Regions from separate parts of the Homo sapiens genome. Here all the other regions are linked to region 3. Evidence: promoter capture Hi-C in human tissues and cell types (Jung and others, 2019). All regions are on one chromosome and are shown on one strand. Each heading gives the region's core, a stretch centred on a gene start or on the middle of the fragment in contact. The rest is flanking DNA. Distances are from core to core; before and after follow the strand shown.

Region 1 (4,157 bases), core at 84-2,583, 670 kb before region 3:
GGAACAGCTGTCCCTTGCCTCCCAATTACTTTTGCAATTATTTCAGTATAGACTCGTGGATATTTAGTTTATTCTGCCAGTGATAATTCATGACCAACATCATTTGTCTCATTGCTCCAGTTGTCCCAGGTACAGCCACTGTGAGAGTCTTCAAGTCACCCCCCTGTGTTTGTTTGAAATGCCCTTATTGTATTTTGAGCACTTTCTTTCTGACATAAGATGTTCCAGGATTATTTTATAATTTCACTGACCCCGCCCTATACTTAATCATTTCTCCAAAAAACTCTGCTTCCTTTTTTGAGGGAATGGTATTTAGAAACTAAGATCTGGGTACTGGATGTCCTCATTGTTACTGGGGTGTCACTGCCTCTAGGCCCTCTCAGCAGACAGAGCTAGGGAATATAGGTTACCAACTCTGAAACTATTTTATCGGTATTCTGGGATTGAGCAATTAAGTAAATATATTGTATTTAGTGGGAGGTAGGCTTCTCACTGTCAAAGAAAGAACTACAAATGAAAAGGGAAGGGCAGAGTGAACCCTGTTGTGTTAAATTAGAATAAGAGGCATTGGCATGAGCTCCTCGTATTTAATATATACACAGATTGACAGACATAGAAATAAATATGACCTGGCAATTCCATTCCTAGGCATAAACCTAGCAGAAATGCATGGTCATAAAAAATATGGATAAAAATGATCAAGATGGGTGTGGTGGCTCACGCCTGTAATCCCAACACTTTGGGAGGCTGAGGCAGGCAGATTGCTTGAGTCCAGCCTGGGCAACATGGCGAAACCCCATCTCCACTAAAAATACAAAATTAGCTGGGTGTGGTGGTGCATGCCTGTAGTCCCAGCTACTCGGGAGGCTGAGGTAGGAGGATGGCTTGAGCCTGGGAGTCAGAGACTGCAGTGAGCCGAGATCGTATCACTGCACTCCAACCTGGGGAACAGAGTGAGACCCTAGATAGAAAGAAAGAAAGAAAGAAAGAAAGAAAGAAAGAAAGAAAGAAAGAAAGAAAGAGAGAAAGAAAGAAAGAGAGAAAGAAAGAGAAAGACAGAAAGAGAGGAAGGAAGGAAGGAAGGAAGAGAAAAGAAAAACAAGAATGATCATAGCTGCACTATTATAATAGTCCTAAGCTGGAAACTACTCAAATTCCCATTGACATCAGACTAAAGAATGAATGACCTACCACTACATGCAACATTATGGATGAAAATACAATTGATGAAAGAAATTTTCTCAAAAAATGCTGTATAATACAATTGATATAAAGTACAAACCAAGCAAAATTAATCCATGCCACAAGAACTCAGTATCAATTTCCTGCAAGAGAAATGGGGGGGCTTCTGAGCTGCTGGTAATGTTCTGTCATTTGGTCTGGGTGCTGATTTCATGGGTGTGTTTAATTCTTAAAATGTATATACATGATCCATCAATAAAAAGTTTCTTAAAATATTCATCTCCTTGCCCTAAGCCTCATTTATATCTTTATGTCAACTCAGCTGCTGCACCGACCCCATAAAATGAATACAATAGGACTAACCTCTAAACCTGCTCCGCTTCTCTTCCCTTCCAGACTAGGATTGATATTTTCCTTCCAGGACTGGGACTCTTGTTTAATTTTCTTTTATTCCCTCTTCTTCTTTTTTTTTTTTGAGACGGAGTCTCACTCTGTTGCCCAGGCTGGAGTGCAATGGCGCAATCTCAGCTCACTGCACCTCTATCTCCTGGGTTCAAGCAATTTTCCTGCCTCAGCCTCCCGAGTAGTTGGGATCACAGGTGTGCGCCACCACACCTGTCTAATTTCTGTATTTTTAGTAAAGACAGGGTTTCACCATGTTGGCCAGGCTGGTCTTGAACTCCTAACCTCAAATGATCCACCCCACTTGGCCTCCCAAAGTGCTGGGATTACAGGCGTGAGCCACCGCGCCCAGCTTCCCCCTTCTTTTCACAAGTTTGATTTCTCTCTCTCTCTCTCCCTCTCTTTTCTGCCTAGGACTCTTGATCCAGTCCCACCTGCTGGTGTAGGGAGGGAAGATAGTATAGCCCCAACCAGCTAGGAGGCTGCATAAGTGTAGGGGAGGAAAGTAACTGCCAGGGGCAAGGTAGGAGATGGTGCCATATTCCAGAGTTGAAGGTTAATACCAGCTAATGGTCTTTCCGTTACTGCCTTCCAGGTATTTGCAACAAGGATTAAGGAGGAGAATAAAACTCTAATGCAATAAGCTTCCATCATTTGTAATGAACTAACTTATATTGTCCTTATTGTTAAAAGATTCATTTATTAAAAAGATAAAATCATCAGCCTGGAGTGGCAGCTCATGCCTATAATAGCAGCATTTTGGGAAACTGAGGTGAGAAGATCGCTTAAGGCTGGGAGTTCAAGACCAGCTTGGGCAATATAGTGCAACCCCCTGCTACATCATCATCATCATCATCATCATCATCATCATCATCGTCATTAGCCAGGCATGGTGGCTCATGTATGTAGTTCTAGCTACTCAGGGGGCTGAGTTTGGAGAATCACTTGAGCCCAGGAGGTCAAGGCTTCAGTGAGCCAAGCTTGCATCCCTTCACTCAAGCCTGGGCGACAGAGCAAGACGCTATCTCAAAAAAAAAAAAAAAAGATAAAATCATGACTCTCCAATGGCAGATTATAACTAATTCAAAGGAGAAGTCAGAAAAGCTCAATTATATGGAGCAAAGGAATGTTGAAACACATTCACCAACAGAGCTCAAGCCAGCTTCTTCCAGGGTGGGAAAGGGAAGTCAATTGAACCTCTACTGGCAGGATTAAATGTACAGATCTAGAGCCAAGAATTAGTTTTCATTTCTATCAGTTATCTACATTTTACAAGCTGTAAAATGGCTCCCATGGAATCAAAAGCAGATAAAGTGAAAGGGTGTGCTATAGACAATACTTAATTTTCCATTGAAAGAAAATTTTCCTACACTTTCCCTCTCTTTTGATAAAAAATAATCTCATCTATTCCTGTGTAATTCACCAATAGTAACATATCAAATACACCTATTTATTTCTGGCACCTCTCTTTTCATAAGGGGAAGTAACAAATCTTTTGTGATTTTCAATGGTATGTCTGGGAAAGCTCAGCTATCATTCCTTTTATTTTATTTTATTTCACATTTAGGACTAATTTTGGGAATGCAAAATACAAAATTGTCAGGAGATTTGAATACTTAGTGTAGGATCATAGGCATCTGAGAAGTAGTACTTGCCTACCCATTTGTAAGAGACAATACAACATTTAAAAATAGGCCAGGTGCAGTGGCTCACTCCTGTAATCCCAGCACTTTGGGAGGCCGAGGCAGATGGATCAGCTGAGGTCAGGAGTTTGAGACCAACATGGTGAAAGTCCACCTCTACTGAAAATACAAAAAATTAGCTGGGCGTGGTGGCAGGCACCTGTAATCCCAGCTACTTGGGAGGCTGAGGCAGGAGAATCACTTGAATCCAGGAGGCTGAGATTGCAGTGAGCAGAGATCACATGACTGCACTCCAGCCTGAGCAACAGGAGTGAAACTCTGTCTCTAAAAAAAAAAGAAAATAAATAAAAATAAATAAAAATAAAGATAGAAAATAACATGATCATAAAGAACTTTAGCTCCCTCCTAAATAACAAATCTTGTTTCTTTAAATAACCAAGGGCATAATAAAATCAACATGAAAATCAAAAAATAATTCTGGTAAAACACTGAATCTTTGCTATCTAGGTAGATTTACATAGAAAAAAAGAATAACCCTTCATAGTATAGGTGAAGACAACAAACAGTAAACTAGGGAAACAAGGCCATGAATATTAAACAAAATTTTTTAAGATTGTTAGTAAATTTCATGTGTTAAAATGCATATGATGTGTTTTATATGCATTATATATTATAAAATATTATACATTATATGATAAACCGTATGGTCTTATAAAAGCAAACTTTTATAAGATTTTTTTTTTTTTTTTTTTTTTTGAGACAGAGTCTCCCTCTGTCGCCCAGGTTGGAGTGCAGTGGCGCGATCTCGGCTTCACTGCAAGCTCTGCCTCCTGGGTTCACGCCATTCTCCTGCCTCAGCCTCCTGAGTAGCTGGGACTACAGGCGTCTGCCACCACGCCCGTCTAATTTATTGTACTTTTTAGTAGAGAC
Region 2 (3,989 bases), core at 380-2,879, 620 kb before region 3:
CCATATTTCTTAAATATACTTGATGGAATTATCATGTCTCCCTAAAATGTATAAAACTAAGCTGCACCCCGACCAGCTTGGGCACACGTTCTCAGGACATCCTGAGGGCTGTGTCACAGGCCATGTTCACTCATATTTGGCTCAGAATAAATCTCTTCAAATGTTTTACAGAGTTTGACTCTTTTCGTAGAGTCAACTGCGAACAAGACAAATTATCTCAGGTTGAGCATACTGTAGTTCATATGACAGACAACGGAATAATCAAAAAGAATTTACTAGAGGCAGCATAATAATGTTTTAATACAGGTTTCTATTTAGCACTTATGAGATTCTGTATTCAAAGATTACAAACAGAAATGTTCTCAGAGCATTGAATTAATGAATGAGGGGGCAGGGATAATCCACGAGGGTGTTGTAGTAGAAGGGAGGAAACCAGGGTGTGTTTGCCCTTCCTAAAAATCTTCAAATAATGATAATGATGATAATTAGATTTTGTGCAGAAATTTGACCTATATAACTTAAAATATATATATATATATATATATAATATGTATATATATCACTTTTCAAACATATATATCTATGTTTGGAAAGTGAATAGCTTATTTTTTTTTAAGAGGGAGTCTCCCTCTGTCACTCAGGCTGGAGTACATTGGCATGATTTTAGCTCACTGCAAACTCCATGCCCCGGCTCAAAGGATTGTCGTGCCTCAGCCTCTGAATAGCTGGGATTATAGGTGTGTGCCACTACACCCGGCTAATTTTTGTATTTTTAGTAGAGATGGGGATTTCGCCATGTTGGCCAGGCTGGTCTTGAACTTCACGCCTCAAGTAATCTGCCTGCCTCGACCTCCCAAAATGCTGGGATTACAGGCATGAGCCACCAGGCCCGGCCAGCAGTTAGCTTAAAAGTGGCACAAATTAAAAACATAATAAATGTTAGTTATTCTGTATTGTTACAATTTAGTGAAATAAGTTTTGTGATGTGAAAGAAGCAGACAAGTAGCTGAAATTCAGTTTGAGAAAATATAAATGTATTGAATAGTCAATTGACATAAAATCATCAACAAAATGTGTTGAAAGCCAATTTGCTGAATCACTGATTTGCCAAATTCACTGGTTTTGTCAAGCTTTAATAGTAATGATAAATAGCTTTACAAACATGTTTACTTTTGGTCATGAAGAAGGCAAATGCTACATTTTGAAGTAGGGAAACCAAAGGACTAAACTTGCTTTTGGACATTAAGTTAATGGAACTTTTAACATTCATTGTATCCAATGAATTCATTGTATCCAATGAATTCATTGTATCCAAAAAGTGGGGAAAAATGTCCCCAAAAGCTGGGAATTTCCTGCCCCCAACCCTGGAAAAAAAAAAAAAAAAAGAACACTTAAGGAAAACAAGATCATTTTACAGAACACTAGAATCTTACACACCTGTTGCTAATGATGTCTTTTTCATTTTAACCAGATAACCATTAAAATCAAATTGCCATGTTGATAACTTTGTTTTGGTCAAAGTGTTTTTTTTTTCCAGAGTCACTTGGAACTCTTCTGTGGCATCTGAAGCAGATGGACGAAGCCAAGAGGGCCGAGAGTATCTCAGCACCTAGAAATGGACAAGGCTGGTTATTAGAACAAAGATTTCGCAGGTGGTGAGTCTCAAAGGCGAAGCTGAATGGTAGTATAATTTTTTTTAAATTTTAATTATTAAAAAATATTTTTTGGAGGGGATAGAGTCTTGCTGTCACCCAGGCTGGAGTGCAGTGGCACTATCTCAACTCACTGCAACCTCCGACTCCCAGGTTCAAGCGATTATCATGCCTCAGCCTCCTGAGTAGCTGGGATTACAGGCATGTGCCACCATACCTGGCTAATTTTTGTATTTTTAGTAGAGACGGGGTTTTGCCATGTTGGTCAGGCCGGTCTCGAACTCCTGACCTGAAGTGATCCATCTGTCTTGGCCTCCCAAAATTCTGGGATTACAGATGTGAGCCACCACTCCTGGTCTGAATGGGAGTTTAATAGTAGTTAGGTCATGAAACTCCCTGCCAGGCATTCTAATACATTCTGACTTTGCTTTGCAGGTGATAATTGGGAGCTATGTATATATTTTTGTTTTGTTTTGTTTTGTTTTTTGATACAGAGTCTCGCTCTGTCGCCCAGGCTGGAGTGCAGTGGCAGGATCTCAGCTCACTGCAAGCTCCGCCTCCCGGGTTCACGCCATTCTCCTGCCTCAGCCTCCCAAGTAGCTAGGAATACAGGCGCCCGCCACCACGCCCGGCTAATTTTTTGTATTTTTAGCAGAGACGGGGTTTCACCGTGTTAGCCAGGATGGTCTCGATCTCCTGACCTCGTGATCCACCTGCCTCGGCCTCCCAAAGTGCTGGGATTACAGGCCTGAGCCACCTCGCCCGGCCAGGAGTTACGTATTTTTAAAAGTTCACCAGAACGTTGATTTTCAGAGACTGCATTTGTGCTATTCACAGCTGCATTGCAGGTCTCAATACATAGCACTCAGTATAAGCTGGGCCCTTACTGTTTCGCGATATTTTGAAAAAGGATTAAGGACTCAGTGGACATCCACCAAAGCCGAGCTTGATAAAGAATCTGGGCCAGGGCCGGGTGTGGTGGCTCACGCCTGTAATCCCACCACTTTGGGAGGCCGAGGTGGTTGGATCACGTGGTCAGGAGTTCGAGACTATCCTGGCTAACAGTGAAACCCCCGTCTCTATTAAAAATGCAAAAAAAAATTAGCCGGGCGTGGTGACGGGCACCTGTAGTCCCAGCTACTCAGGAGGCTGAGGCAGGAGAATTGCTTGAACCCGGGAGGTGGAGGTTGCAGTGAGCCGAGATCATGCTACTGCACTCCAGCCTGGGCAACAGAACAATACTCCGTCTCAAAAAAAAAAAAAAAAAAAAAAAAAAAAAAAAAAAAAGGAAAGAATCTCACACCTGTAAGTAACCCTGCACTTTGGGAGGCTGAGGTGGGCGGATCACCTGAGGTCAAGAGTTGGAGACCAGCCTGGCCAACATTGTGAAGCCCTGTTTCTACTAAAAATACAATTAGCCGGGCGTTGTGGCTTGCGCCTGTAATCCAAGCTACTCAGGAGGCTGAGATGGGATAATCGATTGAACCAGGGAGGCGGAGGTTGCAGTGAGCCGAGATCGCGCCACTGCACTCCAGCCTGGGCAACAGCAAGAAGAAAAAAAATCTGAAGTAGGGGAGCTTTCAAGGAAGACAAAGATTGGCTAACAATGTTCGATGACTTAGGAAAGAAGATTAACCGTATGATCGGGCAATTTAGGACCTGATTTGTTAACTTTTACCAATGATGTCTAAACAATGCAGTGAGAACAGAGAGACTGGAGTTGAGAAAAGAATGAAAAGAAAGAAAGTGAAGGTGCCTGGTAAAAATGTTTTTGGAAGCAGCTTGATGGGGGCGGACGGGGAAGGTCGCCACCTAGTGTGATTTCAAGGTTACTGAGAATAAAGCACGAGTGGGCGTGGTGGCTCAAGCCTGTAATCCCAGCGTTTGGGAGGCCAATGTGGGTGGATCACTTGAGCTCAGGAGTTCGAGACCGGCCTCGGCGAAGTTGCGTAAACCTAGTGTCTACAAAAAATACAAAAATTAGCTGGGTGTGGTGGCGCGTGCCTGTAATCCGAGCTACTCGCGAGACTGAGGCAGGAGAATTGCTTGAACCTGGGAGACGGAGCTTGCAGTGTGCCGAGATCCTGCCACTGTACTCCAGCCTGGGTGACAGAGCAAGACTCGGTCTCAAAAAATAATAAATCAACAACCACAAAGCGGGCCCGAATTACTGGGAAGACAAAAAAGCCAAAGAACTCAGCATAGGCCCAATCTAATTTTGGTTTGCTCTACTCTCTCAGTCGTTGATATTCTCCAAGACTTCCAGCTCCCAAAATATTTCTTCAACTACCCCAAAGCATCTGGCACTGCTTGAAAGGACCTGCTGGAGTCCCAGGA
Region 3 (4,636 bases), core at 1,535-4,034:
CATGGTACCTCCTCCTTTGTAAAGTGAGGGCTTGGAACCTCTGACATTTTAAATGCAGAGTTCCTTAGTGTGCACATGATAGGGCAAGAAGGTGCAGAGTTTGGGCGTGGCCCGGTCTTCTGGCCTGGTACCTAGGCCTCTGATACCCATCTGGTCACTCTCACCTATTACCCTCTCCCACCGTACATGTTGTTTCAGGGGATCCTGGAGCATGCATTCCCAGCAGCTGGCTGAGGGCTGACCTTAGGTCAATCAGTTGCCATCCAGGCAAACTGCCTATAGGATGCTCATATTTATTAGTCACCTACTGGGTACAGAGCCCACATGTTGAGCAGCTGTCCTGTGGGCAAGGAGAGGGAGAAAAGTACAAAACCAAAGAAGCCGCTCAGGCTTCAAAGAGGAGCAAAATCTGGGCATCCATGCGTCTCTCCACCTATTCATTCAATCATCAACCCAGCAACTATTTCCTGATTATTTACTATCTATGCTCCAGGCTCTGGGTAGAAACTATGTTGGGGAGAAAGAGGCAGAGGCCATCAATGTGGTCACCAGGCATGATAAACACCTTCTTGGCATCAAATCACTCTGAAGGACACAGGGAAGGATCAGAGGTTTCTCTAAGCAGGTGTCAGATTCCTAGTTATGTCCCCTCCCTGAACAGCAGTTTTCTCTATAAAATCTAGGGAAGGTCTTATCAGTGGTTCCAAATCCTACCTCCATCCTTGGAAGCTCAAAGACAGCAGCAGAGTTCCAGAGATAATCCCAACTATTTCTTTTGGTGTGGGGGCGGGGGGTACAAAGTTTCACTCTGTTGCCCAGGCTGGAGTGCAGTGGCATGATCTCGACTCACTGCAGCTTCCACCTCCTGGGCTCAAGTGATCCTTCCACCTCAGCCTCCTGAGTAACTGGGACCACAGGCATGCGCCACTACGCCCGGCTAATTTTTGCATTTTTTTGTAGAGATGAGGTTTTGCCATGTTTCCAGGGCTTGTCTGGAACTCCTGGGCTCAAGCAGTCTGTCTGCCTTGGCCTCCCAAAGTGCTGGGATTACAGGTGAGCCATTTGCAAGAACCGTGTACCTACTCTTTAAACAAATAGGTTTAATACTGTTTAAAAATATAAAGGGTACTGTATAGATGTGTTCTTGATGAATGAAAATATGAAGACATGATTGATACATATGCTGTCGTTTGTATTAATAACTGCAAATTGATAGACAAGATGGAGATCTGAGATCCAAGGGCCTCTTGGTTGGTGAAAAAGGGTGGCATTTGGTCATCACTGAAGGCCTTCGTGGTGCGAGCGACCATAGATGTGGTTAGGTGCCCTGCAGGTGATGTGAGTAACTCGTGGAGTGGGTGGCGGGGAAGAGCTGTCCTTTATGGAATATCTTCCGCTTACCAAACCCAAGCTGGGAAGCACACAAATGTCCCCGGCGGCGGGAGGATGACTGCTCCCATTTTACAGAGGAGAAAACAGGCTTGCTCGCAGAGGTTAGGCGTCATGCAGAGGTCATTCCGCTGGACGGTGGCCAAGCTGGCACTCCAACGCTGGGCGGAATGGCTCCAGAGCCAGACTGAAAGTGGGAGAGGTGACTCGGTCCCAGCCAGGCGGTGAGTTCCTCTGGGCTAGGTCCCCGGTGCTGGCGCAGCAAAGACCACCCGGAGAAAGAGACGGTGAAGGCCCCGGGGCTTCCTGGGGCGTCAGGCGGAGGCGGAGGCGGGGGCGGGGCTCCCTCCAGGCAGTCTTGGACTAGCTGAGTTGTCCCAGCGAGATGGGTGACAGCCGCTTTCCCGAGCTCCCCCGGCCCAGGCTGGTGTCCTGGCGACTCGCCAAGGCACCGGGGCGGGCTAGGGCTGGAGCCGGGGTGGAGGAAGAGGGTCGAGAAGCGAGGCGGGCCCAGAGCAGAAATAGGAGAAGGGGGGGGGGAGGGGGCGGGGAGTCTTTCCTGGGGCAGGAACCCGGGCCCCCCTTGGCGCAGCCGGCCCGCAAAGTGATTCTGCAGATGGAAGGAATTAAGTAGGAGGGGGAGGGTCCGATGGTGATAGCGAGAGGAGGGAGTTAGAAGTGTGTGCGTCTGTGTACACGCGTCTGAGAGAGGAGCGGGAGAGACAGGGAGAAACATCAGACCAGACGGAAATAGAAGAAAGGAGACAAGAAGAGTGAGAGAAAGAGAAGGACATACACACACACACACACACACACACACACACGGAGGGCGCCACATACAAGGACGACGGACACAGGAGACTAGTACTAGTCTAAGAGAGAGAGAAAGAAGGAGTATGAGAAAGGAGGGAAAATAGGAAAGGAAAAGTGAGTGAAAAACAATTGCAGAGGATTTGGAAAGAACGAGACAAGAGCGCTGACGACAGAGGGAGACGAAATTGATTAGGCCGGGGCTGCACTGAGCTCCCGGCAGCTCGGGGAGCTGGGTTGGCCGGGCTGGGACGAGGTGGGGCTTGGGCGGGGCCTCGCATGGGCGGGCCCGCGCCGTGCTGCATATGCAGATGAGCCTCACTCCCCTCTCTCCCCACCCCTGACGGTTCATATTCAACGAGACAGCCAATGCAGGGCGAGGACAGTGCCAGGCGGGGCAGGGAGTGGGCGGCGGGGCATCGTGGACCCCACCCCCGGAGCCGCCGCTGGAGGGGTCAGCCGCGAGGCAGATAGCGGATCGCCGGGCGGGGCGGGACGCAGTGGGCGGGGCGGAGGGGCGGGGCCAAAAGTTTCCTGCCCAACTTTCGCTGCCTCCTTCCACCGCCTGCGCGCGCCGGGGCCGCAGTCGGGGGGAGGCGGCGGCAGCGGCAGCGGCTGCGGGCAGCGCGCGGGGCGCAGGGCGCGGGGCGATCACCGTCGGGGCTCGGGAGGCGGGCAGTGGGCACAGGCTCCCCGGTGCCCGCCCCTCCGCTGCGGAGGGGGGCCGCGAGCGGGCGGCCGGGGAGGGGCCGGCACCGCCGCCACAAAATGAGCCTGCTGTCGGCCATCGACACGAGCGCCGCCTCGGTGTACCAGCCCGCCCAGCTGCTCAACTGGGTCTACCTGTCGCTGCAGGACACGCACCAGGCTAGCGCCTTCGATGCCTTCCGGCCCGAGCCGACCGCCGGCGCCGCACCCCCGGAGCTGGCCTTCGGCAAGGGCCGCCCCGAGCAGCTGGGCTCGCCCCTGCACTCCAGCTATCTCAACAGCTTCTTCCAGCTGCAGCGCGGAGAGGTGGGTGCCCCCGCGCGCCCCCGCCCACCGCCCCACCGCCCCACCGCCCCACCGTGGCGGGCCGTTCCCTGTCTGACCCGCTCTTCCTGGCCTGGCGCGGCCCGGCTCCGCATTGCCGGGCCCGGCTTGGCTTGGCTTCGTTCAACTCTGCCAAACTCGCCGCCCGAAGTCCCCGGGGTGCCGGGTGCGCGTCACCTCCCGGCTGAGCCCGGGCTGGAGCAATGCAGGCCGGGGCGGAGCTCTCCCGCCCCCTCTCCCTGCCAGGGCAGCCCTGCTCCAAAGGGGTTGGGGGAGGGAGTTGAGGAGGGGTTGTCTCCGGATTTTCTTCAGACAGCTGGGGTGCGGCCTGGGCGGGGAGCCCCTTCGAAGTGTCCTTCTCACGCCCAACCTTATCCTCGTCCTGGCCACCGCGGGCTGGGACCGAGAGTGCAGATTCTGCTCGGAGCTCCTCTGGAAGGGCCTAAAATCTTTTCTCCGACCTCTGCGGTTCCCGACCCGAAAGGCACCCTGGAGAGCAGTGACTGCCCAGAGGGCTTCTCCTGCTGTTCTCACTCGGGGACCCCAGATACGTCCTCCAGCTGCTCGCCCTCCCCCAGCCACATAGGAAGTGGTTTCTGAGGGCTTGACCCCACAGACTGCGCTGTCCCCAGCCCTCCCAGCCTCGAAGGAAATGAAAGGGAAATCCTCTTGAGCTCTTGGGAGGGGGGCTAGAAAGGGGGGGGGAGAGGTTCCAGCTGCCCAGCGCCTTCTGCAGAAACCTGGGCCGGCTGTGTTGCAAAGTCTGCCTGTTTGGTGGATTCAGTTACAAAGTTGACTGGGCAGCGCCTCTTTGCCAGCAAGATAAATACACAGATCGCCACCACCTCCCAGCCCTTTTTGAAGAGTCTCCAGGGCCTGCCCAGATACCACTCCTTTCCGTGGGCTGGACTCCTCCCCTCCCTCCATTTACTCCTGCCTCATTTGGGAATTTCAGACACCCATCTGTGGCCTTCACTTCCTCCCCTTGTGGGGGTTTTCTCTGCAAAGATGCAAGAGGTGTGTTCGGGGGAGGACACACATGGGGGTCACTTTCCTTCCAGACCTGGGCACACCGGTGAGTTTTAGGAGAGTCAGAGTCCTGAATGGGTTGGGGAGGAAAGCCTATGTACGCAAGGGTGTGCTGGGGGTAAGAGAGGGAGGCAGAGGGTCGCCCTTGAGTTCAACTCTGCCATTATTTACTAGGGGAGGCATGGACATATAAAATGCTGGCCCAAGGCCAACACTACCCAGGCTGACCTGTTGACCTGGGTGGGTAGAACAGGCGTGGGAGGGGGCTGGGTGCAGAGGAGGAAGATGAGTCTGAAAGTGCACCCTTTGGTGTCAGGCAAAAGCATTTCTATGCCAAAGCTCTTTGTAAACTGTAAAGCATTCTCTCCACGTGAGG

Evidence for each region. The method cuts DNA at HindIII sites, captures the fragments that hold promoters and counts their contacts. A contact is called where the count stands out against the background at its distance.
Region 1: a fragment that was not itself captured here is called in contact with the fragment with the promoter of ZCCHC24 in region 3 in 2 of the 25 tissues and cell types used here (aorta and liver).
Region 2: a fragment that was not itself captured here is called in contact with the fragment with the promoter of ZCCHC24 in region 3 in 1 of the 25 tissues and cell types used here (heart left ventricle).

Annotation. Positions count from the first base shown.
Region 1 is chr10:80,117,164-80,121,320 of GRCh38, reverse strand. No RefSeq gene overlaps it. Among named protein-coding and RNA genes, the nearest start is that of PLAC9, 13 kb to the left of the region's middle. The HindIII fragment of the contact is 5,076 bases long and covers 1-3,871 here.
Region 2 is chr10:80,058,482-80,062,470 of GRCh38, reverse strand. TMEM254-AS1 (TMEM254 antisense RNA 1) reads left to right here. Exons shown (of 4, transcript NR_027432.1): 2 at 1,538-1,655. Among named protein-coding and RNA genes, the nearest start is that of TMEM254, 18 kb to the left of the region's middle. The HindIII fragment of the contact is 3,519 bases long and covers 1-3,388 here.
Region 3 is chr10:79,443,772-79,448,407 of GRCh38, reverse strand. ZCCHC24 (zinc finger CCHC-type containing 24) reads left to right here and starts at 2,784. Exons shown (of 4, transcript NM_153367.4): 1 at 2,784-3,213. The coding sequence starts at 2,968. It overlaps LOC105378383 (a long non-coding RNA gene), which reads right to left and starts at 2,167. Exons shown (of 4, transcript XR_946104.4): 1 at 1-2,167. RefSeq lists silencers at 2,352-2,861, 2,872-2,931. The HindIII fragment of the contact is 26,514 bases long and covers 1-4,636 here.